Linked DNA regions of Homo sapiens: region 2 is linked to region 1. Evidence: promoter capture Hi-C in 16 types of primary human blood cells and fetal thymus (Javierre and others, 2016). All regions are on one chromosome and are shown on one strand. Each heading gives the region's core, a stretch centred on a gene start or on the middle of the fragment in contact. The rest is flanking DNA. Distances are from core to core; before and after follow the strand shown.

Evidence for each region. The method cuts DNA at HindIII sites, captures the fragments that hold promoters and counts their contacts. A CHiCAGO score of 5 or more calls a contact.
Region 2: a contact is called between a fragment that was not itself captured here and the fragment with the promoter of HDHD3 in region 1, in 1 of 17 cell types (total B cells). The highest score is 5.2, in total B cells.

The regions. Positions count from the first base shown.
Region 1 is chr9:113,375,736-113,381,358 of GRCh38, reverse strand. It overlaps HDHD3 (haloacid dehalogenase like hydrolase domain containing 3), which reads left to right and starts at 4,373. Exons shown (of 3, transcript NM_001304509.2): 1 at 4,373-4,630. RefSeq lists an enhancer at 207-266 and a silencer at 4,002-4,521. The HindIII fragment of the contact is 9,890 bases long and covers 2,543-5,623 here.
Region 2 is chr9:113,588,662-113,594,284 of GRCh38, reverse strand. RGS3 (regulator of G protein signaling 3) reads right to left here. Exons shown (of 23, transcript NM_001394167.1): 19 at 2,888-2,952. Among named protein-coding and RNA genes, the nearest start is that of RGS3, 130 kb to the right of the region's middle. RefSeq lists enhancers at 4,317-4,816, 4,817-5,318. The HindIII fragment of the contact is 452 bases long and covers 1,025-1,476 here.

The sequences.
Region 1 (5,623 bases), core at 3,124-5,623:
GAAGGGAAGGGAGGAGGGAGGGAGAAAGGAAGGAAGGAGAGAGAGAGAGAAAGAGAGAGAGAGAAGAGGGAGGGAGGGAGAGAAAGAAAGGAGAGAGAGAAAAGAGGGAGGGAGACAGAGAGAAAGAATGAAAAAAAAAGAAAGAAAGGAGGGAAGGAGGAAGAGAAAGAAAGAAAGAGAGGAAAGAAAGAAAATTAGATACATGTTTGTGTGCTGCTAGAAAACTGTGTCATAGCATAACCAAAACTGTCACCTCAGCAATCCCTGGGGAGTGAGATGGGGTGGGGAAGCCCTTCTCTCCCTGCCCCAAGGCTACTGCCCTTGTTCAGTAAGCAGGCTGAGGCCCCACACCCTTCTTTCCGGTTCCTCACCTGGAGTACTTTCCTTGATCTTAACCTGACAACCTCCTTCTCACCATTCAGATCTTTGTTCCTTCCTTGACCACCTCATCCAAAGAGATACCCTGTCACTGTTCATAAAATGATTGTTTTTACCGCTTCCACTTCTCTCTCTGAAATCACTTTGTTTATTTATCTACTCAATGGTTGTCTGCCCCTCCCATGCCCCATGCAGGCAGGAACCACCTTGTTTCCCACTGAATCCTCAGAGAAGGACAGGGGACACAGAGCCCACAGATGTTAGGTGGTCAATGAATGAGGTTGGGTGTTGGTGGGGGGCTGGCTTTTTATTTTGTACACGTTTGTATTTTGCATTATTATTATTATTTTTTGAGACAGAGTCTTGCTCTGTCACCCAGGCTGGAGTGCAATGCTGTGATGTCAGCTCACTACAACCTCTGCCTCCCAGGTTCAAACAATTCTTGTGCCTCAGCCTCCCGAGTAGCTGGGATTACAGGCACCTGCCACCATGCCCCACTAATTTTTGTATTTTTAGTAGAGATGGGGTTTCACCATGTTGGTCAGGCTGGTCTCAAACTCCTGACCTCAAGTAATCCACTGGTCTCGGCCTCCTAAAGTGCTGCAATTACAGACGTGAGCCACCACACCCAGCCTGTTATTATTTTTTAACAAGATGGGGTCTCACTTTGTTTCCTAGGCTGGTCTCATACCCCTGAGCTCAAGGGATCCTTCCACCTTAGCCTTCCAAAGTGCTAGGATTTCAGGCATGAGCCACTATGCCTAACCCTGAATATGTCTGTATTTTTTTTAATAGGAGAAAAAGCATATACATTTATTTGATCATAGTTTTTTTGTGACATGGGAGCCTTCAGAATGAAGAGCCACAGATACAGAGGAAACTGTCCATTTTTATGCTTAGGTTCAACGAAGTGTACATGGCCGTGTATGTAGGGAAAAGAGAGATCAGACTGTTATTGTGTCCATGTAGAAAAGGGAGACATAAGAAACTCCATTTTGACCTGTACCCTGAACAATTGCTTTGCCCTGAGATGCTGTTAATCTGTAACTTTGCCCCAACCTTGAGCTCACAGAAACATGTGTTGTATGGAATCAAGGTTTAAGGGATCTAGGGCTGTGCAGGATGTGCCTTGTTAACAAAATGTTTACAGGCAGTATGCTTGGTAAAAGTCATCGCCATTCTCCATTCTCGATAAACCAGGGGCACAATACACTGCGGAAAGCCGCAGGGACCTCTGCCCTGGAAAGCCTGGTATTGTCCAAGGTTTCTCCCCATGTGACAGCCTGAGATATGGCCTCGTGGGATGGGAAAGACCTGACCGTCCCCCAGCCCGACACCCGCGAGGGGTCTGTGCTGAGGAGGATTAGTAAAAGAGGAAGGCCTCTTGAAGTTGAGATAAGAGGAAGGCCTCTGTCTCCTGCCTGCCCCTGAAACTGAACGTCTCGGTATAAAACCCGATTATACATTTGTTCAATTCTGAGACAGGAGAAAAACCGCGCCGTGGCGGGAGGCGAGACATGTTGGCAGCAATGCTGCTTTGTTATTCTTTTCTCCACTGAGATGTTTGGGTGGAGAGAAGCATAAATCTGGCCTGTGTGCACATCCAGGCATAGTACCTTCCCTTGAACTTATTTGTGACTCAGATTCCTTTGCTCACATGTTTTCTTGCTGACCTTCTCCTCACTATCAGCCCGCTCTCCTATCGCATTCTTCTTGCTGAGATAGTGAAAATAGTAATCAATAAATACTGAGGGAACTCAGAGACCAGTGCCAGAGCAGGTCCTCCGTATGCTGAGCGCCGGTCTCCTGGGCCCACTGTTCTTTCTCCATACTTTGTCTCGGTGTCTTATTTCTTTTCTCAGTCTCTCGTCCCACCTGATGAGAAATACCCACAGGTGTGGAGGGGCAGGCCACCCCTTCACATGTAGAAACAGGATTGCACAAAACGCTAATAGACTGAATAGAGAAACCCACCAAGACCCATCTGTGTAGATTCTTCTTGGCCTCTCTGTGCAGTGTTCCTTCCTCCAGGGTATGCGGCAAGACCCTCTCAAAGGGGCCTGGGTGGTGGGGGCTGTCTTATGACCTGTCTTGCCTAAGGTCATAGTGCAAGGTGATGAGACTAAAGAGGAACAGAGCACAGGCACAGAAGTATCTCAAAGCTTCCCCTCCGGTACCTCCCCAGCCTCTTTGGCCCAAACCCCCTGGCTAGCAACATTCCTATAGTTCCTCAGTGTCTCTTTGGTTCGGAAAAAAAACTTTCTTGCCTGGAGGCCTTTGCATCAGGGGGTCCCTTAACCATCACTCAGATCCTTCCCCTCTGCATGGCCAACTCTCATATGTTTGTATTTTTTAGTTTTTTGAGACTAACATGCATTACATGCATACCTTATTTATTTATTATTTTTTTATTTTTTTATTTTTTTGAGATGGAGTTTTGCTCTTGTTACCCAGGCTGGAATACAGTAGCCTGATCTTGGCTCACTGCAACCTCCACCTCCCCGGTTCAAGCGATTCTCCTTCCTCAGCCTCCCAAGTAGCTGGGAATACAGGCATGAACCACCTCGCCTAATTTTGTATTTTTAGTAGAGACGGGGTTTCACCGTGTTGGCCAGGCTAGTCTTGAACTCCTGACCTCAGGTGATCCACCCACCTCAGCCTCCCAAAGTGCTGGCATTACAGGCGTGAGCCACCGCGCCCAGCCAACATACATTACTTTTGCAAACAAAGATAAAACTCTTTTTTTATTCTTCAAAAGAATAAAAAAGCTCCCTGGTGGTCTAGTGGTTAGGATTCCAGGCTCTTACCACAGGGATCTTTTTTTTTTTTTTTTTTTTTGGGGACACAGTCTCGCTCTTTGCCCAGGCAAATATTGTGCAGTGGCAGAATCTTGGCTCACTGTAAGCTCCGCCTCCCGGGTTCATGCCATTCTCCTGCCTCAGCCTCCCGAGTAGCTGGGACTACAGGCACCTGCCACCATGCCCGGCTAATTTTTTGTATTTTTAGCAGAGACAGGGTTTCACCGTGTTAGCCAGGATGGTACCACAGGGTTCTTAAAAACAAAAAGAGGCCAGGTGCGGTGGCTCATGCCTGTAATCCCAGCACTTTGGGAGGCTGAGGTGGGCGGATCACCTGAGGTCAGGAGTTCAAGACTAGCCAGGCCAACACGGCGAAACCCTGTCTCTACTAAAAATACAAAAATTAGTTGGGTGTGGTGGCACACACCTGTAATCCCAGCTACTGGGGAGTCTGAGGCAGGAGAATCGCAAGAAACTGGGAGGCGGGGGTTGCAGTGGGCTATCGCGCCACTGCACTCCAGCCTGAGCGACAGAGGGAGACTCCGTCTCAAAAAAAAAAAAAGAGAAAGAATAAAAAAGCAGGTTACTGCAGCGGACTCTACCCTCACCAAGTTATCTTGGATTTAACAAGTTTCCAACTGAAAGCAATTCCCTCCAATACCAACTGGGGACCCTGAGACCAGAGAGGGGCTGGGCCTTGCCCAGGTTCACACAACACTAAGCAAGCCAGGCTGGGTCCCAACTCCCCTCCTCCCACTCAACCTGGGTACTTCTCGGGGGTTTCCCGATCCAAAGGAGGCCAGGAGCCGGGGTTGGGGATGGGGAGCGGAGACAGCGGTGAGGAGCGGCGGTGTGGCGGGCAGGGGGTGCGCAGACAGGGCGGAGAAGGTGCTGGTAACGGGGGCTGCGGAGCGGAAGGGTGCGGGCTGGGGAACCTCAGAGGGTGCGGGGAGGGAATAAGGGGCGTAGATGGTGCAGGGTAACGGAGGCGCGCAGTGAAGGCGGGTGACAGGGGCGCAGAGAGGTGCACAGTGAGACGAAGGAGGGAGAGGGGACGGCGAGGGCGACGGGAGATGGGGCGGGAGAGGGCGAAGGTGAGGGGGATAAGGGCGGGGACGGGGCGGGGACAGAGGCGGGTCGGGATGGTAGGGAGGGGCGGCCCGCGCGATCCCCGCCCCACCGCCCGGCGCTTGCGCACCTCCGCCCGAGCTCGCGGGCCTTGCGGCTGCGTTTTCAATCTGCTTCCTTGTGAGTCAGGTGGGTCCTGGGCCCAGGAACCGGCCCGGAGCCGTGGACGCCCTACAGCTGAGAAGGGGACCCAAGGGGTCGGCCGCGGCCAAGGCCCCTAGGACCGCCGCCCCAGCTCACGCTGCCGACGGCAGCTATAGACATTCTGCGTCAGGTCCGGGCTCCTGGACTTCGCCTTTCCCGAGCCCTGGAGGTGGGGAGAAAAGGTGAGCAGTTCGTGCCTGCAGCGCAGAGCCCCAAACCCGCGGTTTTAGAAATCGAAAAAGCCCTGCCGGGCGCGGTGGCTCACGCCTTTACCGTAATCCCAGCACTTTGGGAGGCCGGGGGGCGGGGTGGGGCGGGGGAGGATCACGAGTTCGGGAGTTCGAGACCAGCCTGGCTAACATAGTTGAAACCCCGTCTCCACTAAAAATACAAAAATTAGCCAGGTGTGGTGGCGCGCGCCTGTAGTCCCAGCTACTCTGGAGGCTAAGGAAGGAGAATCGCTTGAATCCGGGAGGCGGAAGTTGCAGTGAGCCGAGATCGCACCACTGTACACCTGGGTGACAGAGTGAGACTCTGTCTCAAAAAAAAAAAAAAAGAAAAAAAGCCGGCCGGGTATAGTGGCTCACGCCTGTAATCCTAACACTTTGGGAGGCTGAGGTCGGGAGTTCGAGACCAGCCTGGCCAACATGGAGAAACCCCGTCTCTACTAAAAATACAAAAAAAAAAGGAGCCGGGGATGGTGGCGCATGCCTGTAATCCCAGCTACTTGGGAGGCTGAGGCAGGAGAATCGCTTGAACCTGGGAGGCGGAGGTTGCAGTGAGCCGAGATCGCGCCATTGCACTTCAGCCTGGGCAACAAGAACGAAACTCCGCCTCAAAAAAAAAAAAAAAAAAAAAAAAAAGCCGTGGGTCAGGAGCCAGAGCCCTCTGCTCTAGTCTTAGCTGTGCCAATGTGACTCCCTGTGTGATTTGGGGGTAAATTACTGCCCCTCACTGGGTCTCTGTCTACCCACCTGCAAAATGAGAGGATCTTTGGATGAGTCTCCTTAATTCATTTCCTGGACAAACTTCCTCCAAGGCTCCCCCAGATTTACCAGTGACGCCCTTCCCTAAGTATCAACTTAGCCGTACTTTGAACTCTGGCCCCTCAGGTTTCAAGGGGACGGCCTTGTCTGGGATCAGCTCTGTCTGGGGAAAGAAGCTGCACCAGCCTC
Region 2 (5,623 bases), core at 1-2,500, 220 kb before region 1:
CGGAGCATCTCTGTAGGGCCCCCCACCTTGGGGCCGCAGATTGGTCTGTAGGAGGCACCACTCTGGCTCCTGTCCCCCACCCCGCGTCCTGGGCAGCGGGCAGCAACGGTGCAGGCTGCAGCCACACACGCTCTCTGGAATCCTGGCCTGATGACTGGACTCCCAGGCACAAGCCGGGGCTGGGACTCAGACAGGAGGAGCCAGGAAATGGGAGGGACCAGGAGGGGGAGCGGAAAAAAAAATTCCTTCTGGCCAACCCTGAGAGGGAGCCGTGAAAGGGGCATGTGTCTGCAAGGGACAGCCTCTGGGGCCGCCCCGGCAGGAAGCCAGTCCCAGCTATTTGTGACTGGCCTCCTCGTTACCATGGCAGCAGGGAGACAGTGGTGGGGGGTGGGGGACAAGTCAGCAAATTGCTGAAAGGGAAGGAGGGAGCCAGGGGAGGCACTGCCCACCACCGGGGTGGCAGGACTGGCTATTTTTAGCCAAGAACCATTTTTAGCCTTGCCGGTCCCCAAGGAGGCAGCAGAATTCAGCACTGGGTGAAACTGCTGGCAAGAAAGGAGTTAAATGCCTCTTGCTCATGTTCGCCCCTCTTTTCCCTAGACCCCCTGTACAGGGCACCTCCCAGAGAATGGCTCCTGCCAGCCGGCCTCTCAGCCTCAGTCACCTGCATTGGCGACATCCAGTCATGAATATACAGCAGGACCCCAACATCTTAGTAGTTTTAAGCCTGAATAACTTCAGAAGTACAAGTCCTATAAACTTACAAAAACACCATTTTAAAGTTTAATTATTTAATGTTGTGTGCATGGTTTTGTGATTTTCGAATAATAAATGTTTCACTTTAAGTTTTGGTCTCCATCCTCCCAAAGATGGAAAATGCTGACTCAAACCAAAAATGAAAATGAAAAATTGATTATTCAAAAATCACATAACTAAAGACGTGCAAAAGAAATTTAATAATTAAACTTTCAAGGGGGTTTGGTAAGTTTGAAGCATTTATACTTCTGATGCTATTCAAGCTTAAAATGGCACTAAGACCTAGACACCCTGTCTAATGAAGGAGAGTCCTGCAGGGGAGGCTGATCCCAGGCTCTGGAGCTAGTCTTGGGTTCAAATCCCAGCTCCAGCAGTTACCAGCTGTGTGCCCTTTGACACGTTTCCTGATCTCTCAAGTTTCCTATCAAGGTTTTTTCTCTGTCAAGCTGTTTCCTCAAACAGAAGCCAGCAGGCCAGGTCTCCAGGTCCCAACCCCACCACTTTCTTGCCATGTAACTTAGCCTCTTTGCACAGTAGTTTATTCACGTGTAAAATAAGGGTAAGGTCAATAAGAAAGAACAGAACGGAAAATAAAAGTAGTGGTAAAGATTAAATTAGATTACATATGAAATACACACAGAACAGTGCGGGGCATAATAAACATTAATGGTTATTCTTATTATTACCGTAGATGTTCTAAGACTCTTCGTCTAAGCTTTTAAGAGTATGACCTTCAGAGGCCAGGCATGGTGGCTCATGTCTGTAATCCCAGCACTTTGGGAGGCCGAGGCGGGAAGATCACTTGAGGCCAGGAGTTTGAGAACAGCCTGGCCAACATGGCAAAACCCCCATCTCTACTAAAAGTACAAAAAAAATTTGCTGGGTGTGATGGCACACACCTGTAATCGCAGCTACTTGGGAGGCTGAGGGACAAGAACTGCTTGAACTTGGGAGGCGGAGGTTGCAGCAAGCCAAGATCGCACTCCAGCCTGGGTGACAGAAGGAGACTCTGTCTCCAAAAAAAAAAAGTGTGGGCTTCAGGCAATTCAAAAGGCAGCACCTACATTGAAAGGAGGCTAGACAGGGCTGCTCCAGCACCCGGGATGCCTGCCCTCTGCGCCACACACTGCTTCCCTACACCTCCCACTTCCAGCACCACATTCAACAGTCCTGGCACCCCCTGGATCCTCTCTCATCCTACAAAAGGTTAAGTGAAGATGGTTGGTGCAAGGGACTGTTTTGGTTTATGCATTTCACCTTGCTAAGAAAATGCAATTGGCTGTGGAGTAAGAGAAGCCAACAGTTGCTGCAGAAAGCTGGAGAGGTCAAGGCAGCTGGGGTGAGGAAGGCTTTCTAGGGTAGTGGACCCCACCCACGGTCAAGGCCAGAGAAGAGGGTTGCAGGAGGCTCCTCCCTATAGCCCAATTCCTGCCTAGTGGTGGGTGCTACAGGACCTGGTGGGGAGGGGCTTCCTCTGGAGGTGTCACTGTGCATGCACCCCACTGCCTCCTCCCTATACCTCCCCCGAGTCTCCAGGGTCTTAGGCCTGGGGGTAGAAGAAGACCTGAGAACCCACACACACATCTTTTTCATTGACACCTCTAACAAACACCCTATAGTATAAGAAGGCCTGAGTGTGGCCAGAAAGGCTTGGCGAGTGCGGGATTCGGCAGCTGGGCCAGCAGCGCCCCCTCCTGGCAATGCCTGAGACTATTAGCATTCAGGAGCTCAGGAAGAGAAAGAGGAGCCAATGACTGTCAGTTCCACCCCTTCTCAGGTCACTCTTGGGCCCAGAGGGAGCAAAGGAGTTGTTGAAGTCACTTGGTCCCTGCTTGGCTCAGAAGCTGGGCTAAAGCCAGGGCAAACGGGCTGGTTGCTTCTGGTTCACTGTGGCTTCCGGGTACTGAATCAGCACTTTGCCTCACTTGGAGAGAATGCTCAGGACCCAGGTGACCCCACTTTGGGGTCACTGCAAAGTTCCAAGATCCAGTTTTTCCTTGGTGTCTGTCTGGGGTTGTGGGCGGGACCAGGCACAACCTCTTCTCCCCACCTGGACCCCTAGAGGAGAGACAAGCCCTGGGGCAAGGGAGGAAGAGGAGCGCAGAAGCCAGGGATCTTCCCAACGTACAGGTTTTTGCTCTTTCTCTTCCGGGAGGCTTCGTCATCATCCCCAACGGTGTCAGCCCCGCTCATCTGCGGAGAGAAGACAGACACGATGCAGTCTGGGCACCCAGGAACTCCTGCCTAAGTAAACAGAGGCTCAGAGACCCAACATTCCCTGCCACCAGCCCCTTCCATCCCCAAAGCCCCCACCCGCGGCACACAGGTGAGGGAGGGAAACCCCACTGCTGGGAACAGCCTGGCCATGAAGTGGAATCGGCCTGGCAGACTCTCCGGCCACAGGGATCTCCTCCTGGGACAGTCAGGTCCCCAGCTCACTGGGGAGAAGCCAGACGGCTGGCACTCAGGACAGAGGCTTCATTGCAGGCAGTGAGCAGGTGAGAGGGCAGGGCTTCTGCTGTGTCACTAGGCCAATCCCTGCCCCTCTCTAAGCCTCTATTCCTTAATTTCTAAAATCAGGATCATAATGATTAAGTCAGGATTCTGAAGTTCAAAGGAGACCTGAGATGGTCAGCAGTGTATAAAATAAATCATTACACAGGCCTGAGTGCACCTCTCTTGCCTTATAGCTTTCCATGGCTCCCTAGTGCCCTCGGGATAACATTCAAACTCCGTAACACGACTGGATCTACCATCTTAGGATCAGGGCAGAAAGTTCCATTCAGTTATTCCTTCAGTTATCTCTCCAGCCTGGCCCCTACTTCAGCAACCTCCTCAACTCTGCCTTCCAACCAACAGAAGGTCTTCATCTCCATGTGCAATTCCTTCCTCGGGGGATGCTTTTGTGAGTCTCCCACCTGCATGGATGGATGGATGGATGGATGGATGGATGGATGGATGGATGGATATGTGGATAGGTGGATGGATAGATGAGTGGATGGATGGATGGATGGATGAATATATGGGTGGGTGGGTGGATAGATGGATGGATGGGTGGATGGATGGATGAGTGGATGGATATATGAATGCATGGGTGAATAGATGGATGGGTGGGTGGGTGGGTGGATGGTAGATGAATGCATGGGTGAATAGATGGATGGGTGGGTGGGTGGGTGGATGGATGAAGGAGTGGATGAGTGGATGGATGGATGAATTACACCTTCATTTAGCTCATACTATAGGCCAGACCCTGGATGGGGCATAATTCAGATACTATCTCATTAAACCTCACAATAAACCTATAAAGTAAATAGAGGCTCAGAGAATTTAAGTCACTTCCCCAAGGAGACCCAGCATGTAAGTGACAGAGCTGGAATCTGCCTCAATTCAAGGCCTGTGTTTCTCCACCAGAGGATGCTGCTACTCAAAAATGCAAGGTCAGAACACATTTTAATGTTTCCTGTGAAAGACTCGGGAAGTGCTGCCTCCTTCCTGAGAATGCTGCCCCACCAGAGTTGTAAACATACATGTGTGTACGTGCACACAGAGGCACACACCGTATGGTGTGTGATTTCAGAGCAAGTGTTTGGAACCAGACCTGGATATAAATCCTGCTTTCACCAACTTTGGGTAAGTTTCCTAGCCTCTCGGCTTCCATTTTTTTAGCTATGGCTTAGGCATAGTGACAGCCACTTCACAGGGCTGATGGAAGGTTCACCAGGATAAACTCTGGACCCCAAGGCCCAGTCCTGGCACCCACGCTAACCTCAGTAACCAGTGGTCATTGCCCAGTGAGTGTTACCACTGTCACCATTCAGGGCACCCTTCAGTGCACATACAGGCTGCACTCATGCTGGCCTGGCAAGGCCATGCCCAAGGCCCCCACCCGTGGGAAAGAGCCCTCGGGCCCTGGGCTTCCTCCCATTCTAACCTCAGCTTCCGTACTTTATCGGCTCCACACAATGGGCCTGGGGACCACTCCCACCCAGCCGCCATCCTCAGCCTCTGCGCTGCTGGGAAATGGGCTCTTCCTTCCACTGTGGGGAGGAGAGTGTCTTCAGCAGGGACTGACCCAAGCCTAGCAGCCTGACAGAGGGGCTGGGCAGCTCTGGCCCTAGGAGTCAGCCCCCTGGGCTGCTGGGGAAACCCCAGCACCAAAAAGAGCCTGTGAGCCAAGGAGAAATTGAGGTGAAAAAATCGGGTTCTGATTCCCAGCCCTAGGGACTCACCATAGCTGCAGGGAGGCTTTGGCCTCTGACCTTGGAGGGGGCCAGAGTGGCTCCTCAGACTCTTCCCTCCCCTCCCACAGCTGCATCAATGCCTGCCCAGGGCCTAGTCTGCAAAGGCCCTCCAAAGGGATTCTCCTTTCCATCTTCTCCCCACTGTCTCACTATGTGACCTTGTCCAGCTGAAAAGCAGATGGAGGTGAGTCCAGGACCATACAGCCCTTCCTTCACTCCAGGCAGAATCCCTGGGCCCTGCCCAGCCTCATCCAGCCACCTCCAGGGACTAGGAGCTCACCACCTCTTGGAACAATAATTATAATTCTTACTGTAATTATAACTGTAATTATAGTAATGATTAAGAGTGTAGATTTTTAATTGCCTGGATTTGAAGCTTAGCTCAATCATTTATTAGCTCATTGACCTTAGCTCAGTTACATCCCTCTCTGTGCCTCAGTTTCCTTATTTGTAAAATGCGGGTAATAACCGGACTTCCCTCAAAGGGCTGTGGTGAGGATTATGTAAGTTAACACGGGGACGTGCTCAGCACAGCGCCCAACACACAGCAGTGAGCAAGTACTCTCAGCTAGCATGGGTTTTGCCATTATTTATTGAGCGTTCACTACATGTCAGGTGCCGGG